Linked DNA regions of Homo sapiens: all the other regions are linked to region 1. The links are contacts of gene promoters, found by promoter capture Hi-C in blood cells and fetal thymus (Javierre and others, 2016). All regions are on one chromosome and are shown on one strand. The core of a region is centred on a gene start or on the middle of the fragment in contact, and the rest is flanking DNA. Distances in the headings are between cores, read along the strand shown. Region 1 holds the start of FANCD2 (FA complementation group D2). Region 2 overlaps ATP2B2 (ATPase plasma membrane Ca2+ transporting 2). Region 3 holds the start of CPNE9 (copine family member 9).

The links. Contacts are between HindIII fragments. The CHiCAGO score rates a contact against its expected background, and 5 or more counts as called.
Region 2: a contact is called between a fragment that was not itself captured here and the fragment with the promoter of FANCD2 in region 1, in 2 of 17 cell types (activated CD4 T cells and fetal thymus). The highest score is 6.1, in activated CD4 T cells.
Region 3: a contact is called between the fragment with the promoter of CPNE9 here and the fragment with the promoter of FANCD2 in region 1, in 2 of 17 cell types (monocytes and total CD8 T cells). The highest score is 6.7, in monocytes.

What each region holds. Positions count from the first base shown.
Region 1 is chr3:10,024,396-10,028,133 of GRCh38, forward strand. FANCD2 (FA complementation group D2) reads left to right here and starts at 2,042. Exons shown (of 44, transcript NM_001018115.3): 1 at 2,042-2,078. It also overlaps the pseudogene CIDECP1. RefSeq lists enhancers at 233-869, 1,505-2,140, 2,141-2,775. The HindIII fragment of the contact is 7,543 bases long and covers 226-3,738 here.
Region 2 is chr3:10,326,801-10,330,928 of GRCh38, forward strand. It overlaps ATP2B2 (ATPase plasma membrane Ca2+ transporting 2), which reads right to left. Exons shown (of 23, transcript NM_001001331.4): 23 at 1-2,325. The coding sequence ends at 2,014. It overlaps MIR378B (microRNA 378b), which reads left to right and starts at 3,429; the gene lies at 3,429-3,485. RefSeq lists an enhancer at 1,484-2,032. The HindIII fragment of the contact is 4,701 bases long and covers 1-4,117 here.
Region 3 is chr3:9,702,488-9,706,433 of GRCh38, forward strand. CPNE9 (copine family member 9) reads left to right here and starts at 1,346. Exons shown (of 21, transcript NM_153635.3): 1 at 1,346-1,577; 2 at 2,100-2,140; 3 at 2,262-2,308; 4 at 2,404-2,507; 5 at 2,977-3,013; 6 at 3,231-3,233; 7 at 3,500-3,576. The coding sequence starts at 1,510. RefSeq lists an enhancer at 985-1,895. The HindIII fragment of the contact is 18,760 bases long and covers 629-3,946 here.

The DNA.
Region 1 (3,738 bases), core at 792-3,291:
TCTTAAGAATATGGAACTCTGGTTTGAGAGGTACCGAGTTTAAAGTTTTATTCTAAGACAATGTCATTTAGGCCTGGTACAGTGGCTCACACTTATAATCCCAGCACTTTGGGAGGCTGAGATGGGAGGATCCCTTGAGCCCAGGAATTTGAGACCAACTGGGCAACATAGTGAGACCCTGTCTCTGCCAAAAATAAATAGATGTCTTTCAGTTACAAATTACAAAGCTTTATCTTTATAACAGTACAAGGACTTATTTTTAGATATTCACAAAAATAAAAATACAAAATTAAAAATTTCTTGCGGAATTTGCAAACTTCAGATAACACAGATATTGAGTGTTTAGAAAATACAGGATAATTTAAGATTGCTTATTTAGGGTCTTAAAATACCTCAGGGTCATGATATTCAACTCCATTTCTACAAAACTATTCAGCAGCGTAAATATAGGAGAGCTAGATGAATTTCTTTTGATTACACTGCCTGGAAAAGTCTTGAATTATCGTAGACTGAACAAGTGTTTTTTCGTTTGTTTTTCTGGAGACAGGGTCTTGCTTTGTCACCCAGGCTGGACCAAAAAGGTCGAGGCTGCAGTGATTGAGGCTGCAATCGCAGTGGTGCGATCATGGCTCACTTCAGCCTCGAACTCCCGGGCTCAAGTGATCCTCACACCTCAGCCTCCCGAGTAGCTGGGACTACAGGCACACACCACTGCACCTGGCTAATGTTTAAATTTTTTTGTAGAGACAGTGGTCTCATTGTGTTGCCCAGGCTGGTCTTGAACTCCAGGGCTCAAGCGATCCTCCCACCTCAGCCTCCCAAAGTATTGAGATTACAGGTGAGAGCCACCACGCCTGGCTGTGAACAAGTTTTTTGATGGCCTACCATGTGCCTTGCACTCTGCTGCATGCTATGGGGTATAGAGTAAGGCAAGGTCATGACCCTGCGCTCAGAGTTTCTGTTCAAGTGATAAAATATGCAAACGGAAAAATAATAGATACTTAATCTAGTGCAACAAGAGCGAAACTCCGTCTCAAAAATTAAATTAAGTTAAATTAAATAAATAAATAAATACTGCAATGAAGTATGTGAGGAAGTTGCCTCCACCCTAGGAAGGGAAATGATAATTACAATTCCTTACATGTCTAACAGCAGTGTTACAGATTGCAAAGCGCTTTGGTGCTTAGCATCTCAGCTAACCATTGGAACAGTAATTTGGTAGAATGCAGATTATCACACTCACTTGACTGGATGTTACAAATACTAAAAGCTATAAAGCACCAGGCACTCTTCCCAACGAAAGGGTGGGATGGGATAGTTCATAGGTAAACCCACCGAGGGTTGGCGACTAACCTAAAGGATTAACAGCACCGTTTTTGTTTTTTGTTTTTAACACTCAATACGTCCTAGATCCTGTGCTAAGGGATTTACAGACATCATCTAATTTGATTCCCACCTGTCTATGAGGGAGGTACTGTTATTATCCCCATTTCACAGAGGACAAAAGTGAAACACAGAGGTAACGGGTAAGGTCACCTTGCCAGTGGGGGCGAGACGTGAACCTAGGCAAACTGACACAACGCCTGCACTTTCTTGTCCAAGGTCACGGCGGTGTGAGGTAGGCTGGGGAAGGGAGGGCGCTGACCTGTCAGATACTTGTTCCTGGGTGAGCTTCTTGTCGCTCTCCAGCAGGATGGACACGTAGTGGCGGATCATGTCTACGAAGAGTGATAACGATGGGTAGGACCACCCAGAGGCAGATGTTGGAGTCAAGCAACAGTTCTGGCCCTGCCATCTTCACTGAAAGCTGGCTCCCAGCCGGTGATGGGCGAGCTTCTCTTCACCGGGGCGCAGTTGCTTCTCTCTGACGTCGCCTCTGGGCCTTCTCTCGCCCCTATGCCCGGCTAGCACAGAACTCTGCTGCAGCGGTGAGCCCAGCTTATTGCCTTCAGCTGGGCTGCCCGGCCTTCCACTTCCGGCGCGGAAGTTGGCGTCACGTCATGGCGCGCCTCGGTGGCGTCAGAGCGGCGTCGGGCCTGGCGGGAAAGTCGAAAACTACGGGCGGCGACGGCTTCTCGGTGAGTAAGTGGAGCAATGGTCGTAGTCTCTCGAGGCCCCGCTCCCCTGCGGCCTAATCTCTAAGTCCGGGCCGCGGTCGGCGTTCTCCTCTGGGGCTCCGCGCCCCGAACCTTGGCTTCCTCATCTGCCCTGAGATGGGATAATCCCCACAGGTACCTTTCTGCGTCATTAAAATGCGGAAACGAGAAAGGCTTTTACCCTCACCCGCTTCCCGATGAACTAATCCAGGCAGTCGGCCTCATCTCACTTCTGTTGGGCTTTTCTGGAAGCCAGATGGTATCGCACGTGTTAAAGGCGGGTGCCTGGAAGCCGGACGTGCTGACAAGACTTAGTTTTTCCATCTGCAAGATGGCTGATAATGGTTATCCGTATTAACCGAAGCGGCGATAAATAAAAAGTTTAGCACAGGGCCCGGTACCTCGTAAATGTTAACCATTATTAGAAGTCATTATAATCATCAAGAGTAAGTATAGGTGGTGAAGAGCGCAGGTGCTGAAGCCAGACTCCGAGTTAGAATCCCAGTTCTGCCCGTGATGATGAGAATAATGGTACCCACCTCAAAAAGTTTTGTGGGAAATAAATGAATTATTAAATATAAAGCACTTGAAACAGTTCTTGTTAGCTTTTAGCATTTCCCCTGCACTGCGAGCTTTTTTCACTCTGAATATTCTCAGAAATTTTCCTTATGCCGGTAACTATGCTGGGCATTAGGGACATTGAGTAAGTGAGACTGGGTTCCTGCTCTCAAAGAGCCCCAGTCTAGTGTGAGGTAAGGGCCCCTAGGTATACCCTGTGGAGCAGGGAAGCTGCAGTAGCAAACTCCCTTAGGGATAGGAGGAACACTTTTCAAGGAAGATGACATTCGATTGAATGTTTAGATCTGAGTAGGAATTTCCAGGCAAATAAGAGCACTTCAGATGAAAAGAACACCTTTGTGCAAAGGCACTGAGACCACGAAGGTTCTGATTTACAAGATTAAAAGGTCATGTGATTCAGGCACTTCCCCCACCTCTGCTGTCTGATTTCTAACTCCACATCTCCTTGTTTCAGTATGAGTATCTATTTGCCTGGACTCCTCTTCTCCTACCCCTTCTACTGGCTAACTGCTGTTTCAGCCCTCAAGTCCCTGCCTAAAAATCACTTCTTCAGGCCGGGCGCGGTTGGCTCACGCCTGTAATCCCAGCACTTTGGGAGTCCGAGGCGGGCGGATTATGAGGTTATGAGATCAAGACTATCCTGGGTAACACGGTGAAACCCCGTCTCTACTAAAAATACAAAAAATTAGCCGGGCGTGGTGGCGGGCGCCTGTAGTCCCAGCTACTTGGGAAGCTGAGGCAGGAGAATGGTGTGAACCCGGGAGGTGGAGCTTGCAGTGAGCCGAGGCTGCACCACTGCACTCCAGCCTGGGTGACAGAGTGAGACTCCGTCTCAAAAAAAAAAAAAAAAAAAATCACTTCTTTAGGCCGGGCGGCTCACACCTGTAATCCCAGCACTTTGGGAGGCCGAGGTGGGTGGATCACTTGAGGTCAGGAGTTTGAGACCAGCCTAGCCGACATGGTGAAACCCTGTCTCTACTAAAAAAAAAAAAAAAAAAATTCAAGGAGATTGTCCCTAAGAAATGGTCCTTGCTTCTCTTTACCACCCTTACTAGCAACTAGA
Region 2 (4,128 bases), core at 517-3,016, 300 kb after region 1:
CTCAAGTTTTTCCACCGCCATCCAGATGTAGGCCCTCCCAGTTGACTATGGCTCTTTTCCCGAGTGGCTCTCATCTTGTTTGTGGAAGAGTTCTCTGGGCCTGGAGAAGGGAAGGGGCTGGGCTGACACAGCCATCGTGAGGAGGGTCAGCATGAGGAATGGATTTTGCAAGAGAGGCGGAAAGTGTTTGGTTTTCCTCGAAGCATGGGACATCATCGATCATGGTATTCAAAATGTCTTTTGCACTGTACAAGTTTATGGAAAAAAGATCATATGCTGAAAAGTCTCAAAGCAAACTTTGTATTAAATACAAAAGTTCTTTTATGAAAAACGCTGAGACCCACAAAGTGCTTAGCAGTTAAGAGGCTGACATCCAATTAAATAAGCTCTTATTAAGTGGGATTACTAGTGCTGTTGTCTTGGGGAAAAAATAACCACCTTTTCTCACCTGTGATACTGTAGGGTTTCAGAATGGCTTTCTGTTTGGGAAAGCAAGACTTGCTGTTAAAAGGCTACAGTATATATTGTGACTACAGGAAGACAATTTGGTTTAAAATCACACTGAGTACATCTCAATATACACATCATAAGGTTCATTCGGATCTAAATAGTGCAGAGAAAAAGGCTATTCTTCTTCAAAAATAAAAATAAAAGCAGCAAGCCATACTGATCCTCATCCAATATGCCAACAGCTCAGATGCTGCCATTAATAAGGAAACAAACCTGTAAGTTACTAAATAAAAAAAAAAATCAACACAATACCATTTATAATATTTCAACACTACCTCAATCTCTGTACAGACAGTGCCAAAGAGAACCTATTTTTGAAATGCTCTTAGTAAACTCAAGCGAGTTTCATTGAGAGAAAAGTCTTCGAGCAGTGCTTTGCAGATCCTGGCATCCTTGGGCCGGATGGCCGTTAGTGTTGCAAACCCAGGAAGCCTTCTCTCCTCCTCTCCCTTCGTCTACGGAGCATGTTGTTAAACCCCTCAGGATGGCAACTCGGTAGCATTTGGCTTCTGCCTGAGCCTCTCACGGTAGTGACATTATTGAACGGAAATAGCAGGCAAAAATCAGAGCATGGCTATCATAAAACATCCAGGATGCAACCCAGGGGAAGTGTCTGTTGGGCCGAGCTGTTTTTATAGCATCTCAGCCACCAGTGTTCTTAAACCATACAAATAGCCAAAGACGTTATCTACAGGTTTGTAAACAAATTACATTCTTCTTTTAGGACATAAATAAGTTAAAATAGAGCAATTTAAGCGGAAACAAGGCAACATGCCGGCAAAGAAACTTTATATATCCATGTATATATATTTATATATATATATATATATCTACCTATCTATATGGACGTATACAGTCTCGGAAAAGTATACGTTGATATAGATACAAAGAAATGGATATAACCTTGTGAGTGTCTATGAAGTTCTTCGGTTCCATTGGTGCAAATCTACTAGGCGAGTTAAGCTCTGCAATTTCAAAAAGTTATTAAATTAATCTATACAACTGAGACCATGCTGTGCAAGCATTTCAAAAACTCACAGACCAGTGGATTGGATAAATAGTCTCAGAAAAGAGTCTGTTTGCAGTTCCCGCCTAAGAAAACAAACAAACAAACAAAAACCCCTCCCCAACCCCCAAAAACCAAACAAGGGGAGGATTGAAAGTGTACAGTACATTCATGCGGGGGACGTGGTGGCTGGGCGGGTGCATGGCTGGTCCATGTCTGGGTGGGAGCCAGGAAGGGCTTGTTTTGGGAAAACCGCTCACTCCCGTAAGCCCCCAGTGGAGATCCCGCCCCTTGCCTTGAAGTGAAAAAGAGTTCAAACAGCATCGCAGCCAGAGAAAGGGTCTGTGGGTGGAAACGTTGGTTTTCTCTCCAGTATTTGGTTTCCGATTGTTGCTCGTTGCTGCTTGGGTGAGTTGGGTGCCTGGATGGATGGGTGCCCGGAAAGCGGGTGGCAGCGGGGTCCATGAGGGCGGGCGGGCAGGCGAGAGGGTCCTCAGCTAAAGCGACGTCTCCAGGCTGTGGATGGGGCTCCCTGGACTTGAAGAGGTAGCTGATTTGCTTGTGTCGGTCGTCAGGTTGATCCCACTGTCGATGGCGCTGTTGTTCTTGTTGAGGGATGACGGCGGGCTCGAGTTCTGCTTGAGCGCGGCATCTTCTTCCAGGTCGGTGTCATCAATGAGGGGGATGTGGGGCTGGGAATCTTCGATCCGGAATTCAGGATGAGCCATGAAGTTATGGATGGAGGTTCGAGATTCAGGCTTTTCTAAACCTTCATAGAGAGAGCTACGGAACGCCTTCACGACGCGGATCTGCAAGGGAAGCACAGGGGTCAGGAGCACTGCCCAGGGACCACAGCCAGGCTCGGGGGGCTCACAGGAGGGGCGGGTGGGAGAAGGGTTAGGGCAAAGCAGGTGGCTGGAATCCATAGTCGCTGGGTGTTATTAGCATTGACAGGATGGGGGAGAGTGAAAAAGGGGGCTCAGGTTATAGGCATCCTTGAGCTGGTTTTTAAAAATCTCTTTGGTTTTGGTAGAAACTAGTGTTAGGACAGGAGGAATCACCAAGCACCATCAAAGAGATGATGGGGAACAGTGGTTAAAGGAAGCACAGTCGACTCCTGCGGGCACCCACACCTAGTGAGAGACTGAGCCTTGTTCACTTTAAAGCAGAGGTTCAACCATGCAGACAGGGAGGAGGACCAGGTGGGAATCAAGTAGGAAAGAGGAGAGGCTATTAAAAAAATTCATCTTAGGAAAACCACACACAGTTAAGAAACCATACAACATGGAACATGTTACGTGTCACAAACAGAAAAGGCACAGAAAGGAGAGACGGTTGGATGAGTTGGGATGAGAGAGACACATGAGGGCCAAACAGAACGGGAACATCAAACCAAAGGCAGCAAAGCAAACCAAAGCCAACCCAGGGCTTTCTGAGGTGCAGAGCAGAGGCAGCCAGAAAGCACATGGGAGCTGGCGGACAGATGACATTCGGGGGCGGGCTGCATGCCACGGGGAGGCCGGGAGCCACATGGCACACACAGACAGACACACGGCTACACTTGGAAGCCTGGACAATGTGAACGGAGGTCGTTTGTACCCAGCGTTTCTTTCCTTCATGCATTTGGGAGGTAAACACTCGAGTATAGACTCAAAGCCCTGGCCGGCCAGTTATTGGAGCTTGCTTTGGGGTCTCTTATTTCCTGGGGGATTTTGTTTATTTCTTTATTTGTGCTTTGAAAACACAAAACCAAAAAACGAGGCTGGAATCAGATGGCCAAACCCAGCCCCAGTGGGATTCTGGGGTGTGTGGAACTGAGTCACAAAACAGCAAGTTCTTTCATTTTCTGTCTCAGTTGTGAACCACACGTCCTGGGGCCTCAGTTTCCTCCGCTGAAGAATGGGAGGAGGCTGGTCATTGAGTCTTCAAGGCTAGTGGAAAGAGCACTGGACTTGGAGGCAGAAAGACCCAACTTGCATCCTGGCTCTGCCACATCTGGTGCCTTGACTGTGGACAAGCCACACTAGCTCTCTGGTTGTCCTCTGTCCTGCCTCACAGGGTGCAGAGGGACGGGACCCTCACTTGGAAGAGAGGTGTCCCTTCTCTGGACTCCTGGGAGGGGCAGCAGTGCCTGTCATCTCAAGAGTCTGATGGGACTTGGGACAAAGGTGCCTCCTCCTCTCGTCCCAGCCCCAACTCGGAGTGGAGTCAGAGGTGGAGAAAACAAGGCGGCGTTGGCGCCTCCAGGACAGAGCCTTAGTCGGCTGCTGTGTGCAGGCCAAGTGGCACCCACCTGCAGAGCAGTGGCTGCCCTGCACCACAGGCCTGCGGGGAGGCAGGGGACTGGACGAGACGGTCGTGGGGAGGCCCCTGAAGTCCCAGGACTTGAGCTCTCAGCGGAACCCAGGGGTAGCTCCTTTGTGAAACCCTGGTGGGGAAAGCCCTCTTTTATGGAAGTGGAGTTTCTAGGTGACTGTGGTTGATGATTTTAAGTGTCATCGCTGAAGGTTTGTTTTACTGTTGCAGAGGGAATTCTTTCTAAAGCATGTCATACGCTCCTCTGACTTCTAATTTAGAGTGCACAGAGAAGAATTTAACATAAGCTTTGTCAA
Region 3 (3,946 bases), core at 96-2,595, 320 kb before region 1:
GGCAGGTGAAACAGGAAGAGAACTGGCGACAGGTATACCTCTCCACTCATGAGCCATGGTAGTCCCTGCAGTGGGGACAACACTCAAGACTGTTGAGAGTAGTGGTTCTCGGGCCTAAGCAGGTCCTAGTCACCTAGAGAGCCTGATGAGCTGTGCACATTCCCAGGGCTGCCTGAGCTTTAGCCTTAGGGTTGCTAAGGAAGTTGCCTGGGAATTAGGAGCTGGAGGATCTTCATTTTTTTCAGATTTTTTGAGATGGAGTCTCACTGTTACCCAAGCTGGAGTGCAATGGCACAATCTTGGCTCACTGCAACCCCTGCCTCCTGGGTTCAAGCGATCCTCCTGCCTCAGTCTCCTGAGTAGCTACGTGAACGTGCCACCATCCCCAGCTAATTTTTGTATTTAGTAGAGATGGGGTTTCACCATGTTGGCCAGGCCAGTCTCAAACTCCTGAGCTCAAGTGATCTGCCTGCCTTGGCCTCCTAAAGTGCTGGGATTACAGGCATGAGCCACCGTACCTGACCAGGATCTTCATCTTTAACAAGTTCTGTAGGCAGCAGGGTCCTGGTACGGGTGACCTGCATCCCCTACCTTGAGCCCTGCCTATGGAGGAAGGACTGGCTTCTGAAGCTTTGGAGATAGCAATTGGTGTGCATGTGTGGTGGGTGAGAGCCTGGCTGACCACCACCCTCTTCTACAGTGTAACCTACAGTAGATTGCGTCATGAGAGTGTGTCCGCATCTGTAACGCCATGAAAGTCGTGAGGGTTAAAGGCATGGGCAGACAGCTTTGCACGGTGCTCAACAGCCACCATTTACTGTCATCATTGTGAATACCCAGAGGACAAATCATAAATACCAGTGAATGTTTACTGAGCACTTGCTGTGTGCTAAGTGTTTTCCTTGGGTTATCTCAGTAAAATTTTACAGCACCTAAAGTAGCTGCTGTTAAAGGCCTTTCTGACGGCCTTTCACGGTTGAGCCACAGAGATGTTGAGTAACTTGTCCAAGGTCACACAGCTACTAAGAGATGTACTTTTCCTATTCAGAGACCTAGGCAGGCTGGGAGTGGGAAAAGACAGAAACACTAAGGGAGTGGCTCAGTAAGAGGCAACAATTCCAGTGCCCACCAGGTGCCCCAAATGTTTCAGCATCATGGACAACTCTAGGGGGCTTGGGTTTCCACCCCAGAGACTTGCGCAGGGCAGACTCTACCAAGGTGTGGGTTGGAGTTGGGAGTCGGGGTGAGGTTCCCCGCTGGCTCCAGGCTGCTCCAATGGGGCGGGGGCCGCCCGCAGGGCCGGGCGGGGCTGTGCTGCCATCTGGAGCCGCTGCCGCCGGCGGCCACTGTCAGGGCGCGAGCGGCTGGAGCGCACGCAGGGCTGGAGCGAGTGCAGCCGCCGCCGCCGCCGACACCGCGGCACATGGGCCGGCCCCGCCGCTGCCGTCGCCCCTAGCCCCAGCAGCCCTGGTCTCGCAGCCTCCTGCGGCTCTGGTCGCCCGACCAGCCATGTCTCTCGGCGGAGCCTCCGAGCGCAGCGTCCCGGCCACCAAGATTGAAATTACCGTGTCCTGCCGGTGAGCGGGCCGCGCTGGGGAGGGCTTAGGCACTGGCACTGCCCCAGCCCCAGCCAGCCGCGGGGCTCAGCCTGGGCAGGGGCTAGACCCCCGGGGAGAGGCGAAATTGGCTGGAAAATCACAGCTGATGACAGGGCGAGTAGCTGGTGGGATCGAGAAGCGGGGGGTCTTGGGCAGCCCCACCCCGAAAAAAGGGCTCAGCCTGCGGGTTCAGGGGGTGGGTCGCAGATATCCGGTAGGAGCTCGGCCCCAGGAGGACAAAGTTCTGGGGCGAGCCCTCTTTCCTGGGCCCTTGGAGACAGTGTGGGTGCGTTCGCGTCCAGTCCGCAGAGCCATGGTTCCTGGACAGCGATTTCCGGTGCTGTCCAGAGTGCTGACAGAGCGGACCCCGGCTGGGGGTAGCCATGGGGGACAGAGGTTCGATGCGGGCCCCATGCCTCTCCTCAGTGCCCGGCTCAGAGCCGACTCGAGGCGGGCGGACTCCAGGATGATCCACTCTGTCTGTCTGTTGCTTTTCTCTAGGAACCTGCTAGACCTTGATACCTTCTCCAAGTCCGACCCCAGTAGGCGGCTCCAGGACCGGGAGGGGGAACTTGGGGTCTGGGCGCGACTCAGGGGCGGGTGGAGTCGGGGCCAGGGGTGGGAGCCGACCTGACGTCCTTCCCTCCCCGCCCCCACCTGCAGTGGTGGTGCTTTACACGCAGAGCCGGGCCAGCCAGGAGTGGCGGGAGGTGAGTCCCAGAGCCCCCTCCCGGCCCAGGGCGTCGCCCGGGAATTCCCCTGCCCGTCTGCACGTCCCACGCTGACCCTCCACCCCCCTACCCAGTTCGGACGGACCGAGGTGATTGATAACACGCTGAACCCAGACTTCGTGCGCAAATTCGTCCTCGACTATTTCTTTGAGGAAAAGCAAAATCTGCGCTTCGATGTGTGAGGCCCCGCCTGGAATTCTGGCTTGGCCCGCCCCCGACCTGGATCCGCCCGGAATTCTGGCTGGCCCCACCCCCGCCTCGCCTCCGGCCTGGTTCTTCTCGCAGGCCTCCCTCCCATTCTGAATGGCCCCCTCTAGCCTGAGCCCTGCCCTTTTATGAGATGCGGTCCAGTTCCGTCCCCCGCTCTGGCCCCGCCCACAACTCTGCTCCTATCGCAGCTCCACCTCAGGCCCGACCCCTTCCACACAACCCTGCCCCCAGCAGCCCCTGACTTGGCCTCGGCCCAGGCTTGACCGTCTGACTACTCAGCCCACCCTGACTCCTCCCCAAAAGGAGACCAAAGCTGAATTCGGGTCCACGGCCGCCCATCCCTCCACCCAAAATTTTCACCAAGACTCGGTGCCCGACCCCTTTCCACCCTCTCCCCCACCCAGCCCCACCCCACACCGGTTCCACTCTTTTCCCAGGTACAACGTGGACTCCAAAACCAACATCTCCAAACCGGTGAGCAAACGTTTCCTCGAGGGTTGGCGGAGCGCACAGGAGGCACTTAGATGTGTTCAACGACTCTCAGAACTCCTCCCAACCCTCGACCCAGACCCCATCTTCTTCAGGCCCCCAACCCACCCTCCTGGTCCCTCTCCTCCTGCCTGAGTGTCCTGCCTGTGCCCCCTACTCACTGTTCCTCTTCCTTCTTGGCTGCCACTGCTGGGACCTGCAGAAGGTGAGGCTGAATGGGGCTGGGCAGAGGTTGGGGGTGGGGGTGGTATTGTGGAGAACAGGCTTGGACTGATGACCCACTACAAGGCAGAGATTGCTCGCAGACCCCTTCTTTCACACCCCCTCCATTAAAGCCCATGTAGGGCCGTGGCTCTTGCACCACTCATTCGCCTGGGAACTGCCCTGGTCCTGTGCAGGAGCATCACTGGGGCTAGGCTGGGACTCAGCACTCAAGAGCTTCTGGTCTTGCTGACTCCTTGTCCTGCATAGGATTTCCTGGGACAAGCGTTCCTGGCCCTGGGAGAGGTGATTGGAGGCCAGGGCAGCCGAGTAGAGCGAACCCTCACGTAAGCTGAATAGGAAGGGGTGTGGGAGTGGGGTGGGGGCTTCCAAATTCTCCCTCCCAAGGATGCCGCTGACTGATAGAAGTGGAGGCTGGGGTTGCCCCTGGTCAGGAGCCTGCCCCGGCTCCCATCACCCTCGTAGAAAAGTCCAATTTCCAGTGCTCTGCCCGAGTCAGTATCAGGCCTGATATGTCTTTTCTTTTCTTTTTTTTTTTTCTCTCTCTCTCTCTGTTTCTCTCTCTCTCTCCTCACTCTTTTTCTAAGTCTGATTCAGCCTTTAAGGTCCACTTCCAAGCCCCTCTCCACAGGGAAGCTCCCCCGGACTAAGTCAAATCCTCAGGAATTACCATTACATCCACTCACTAAATATGCA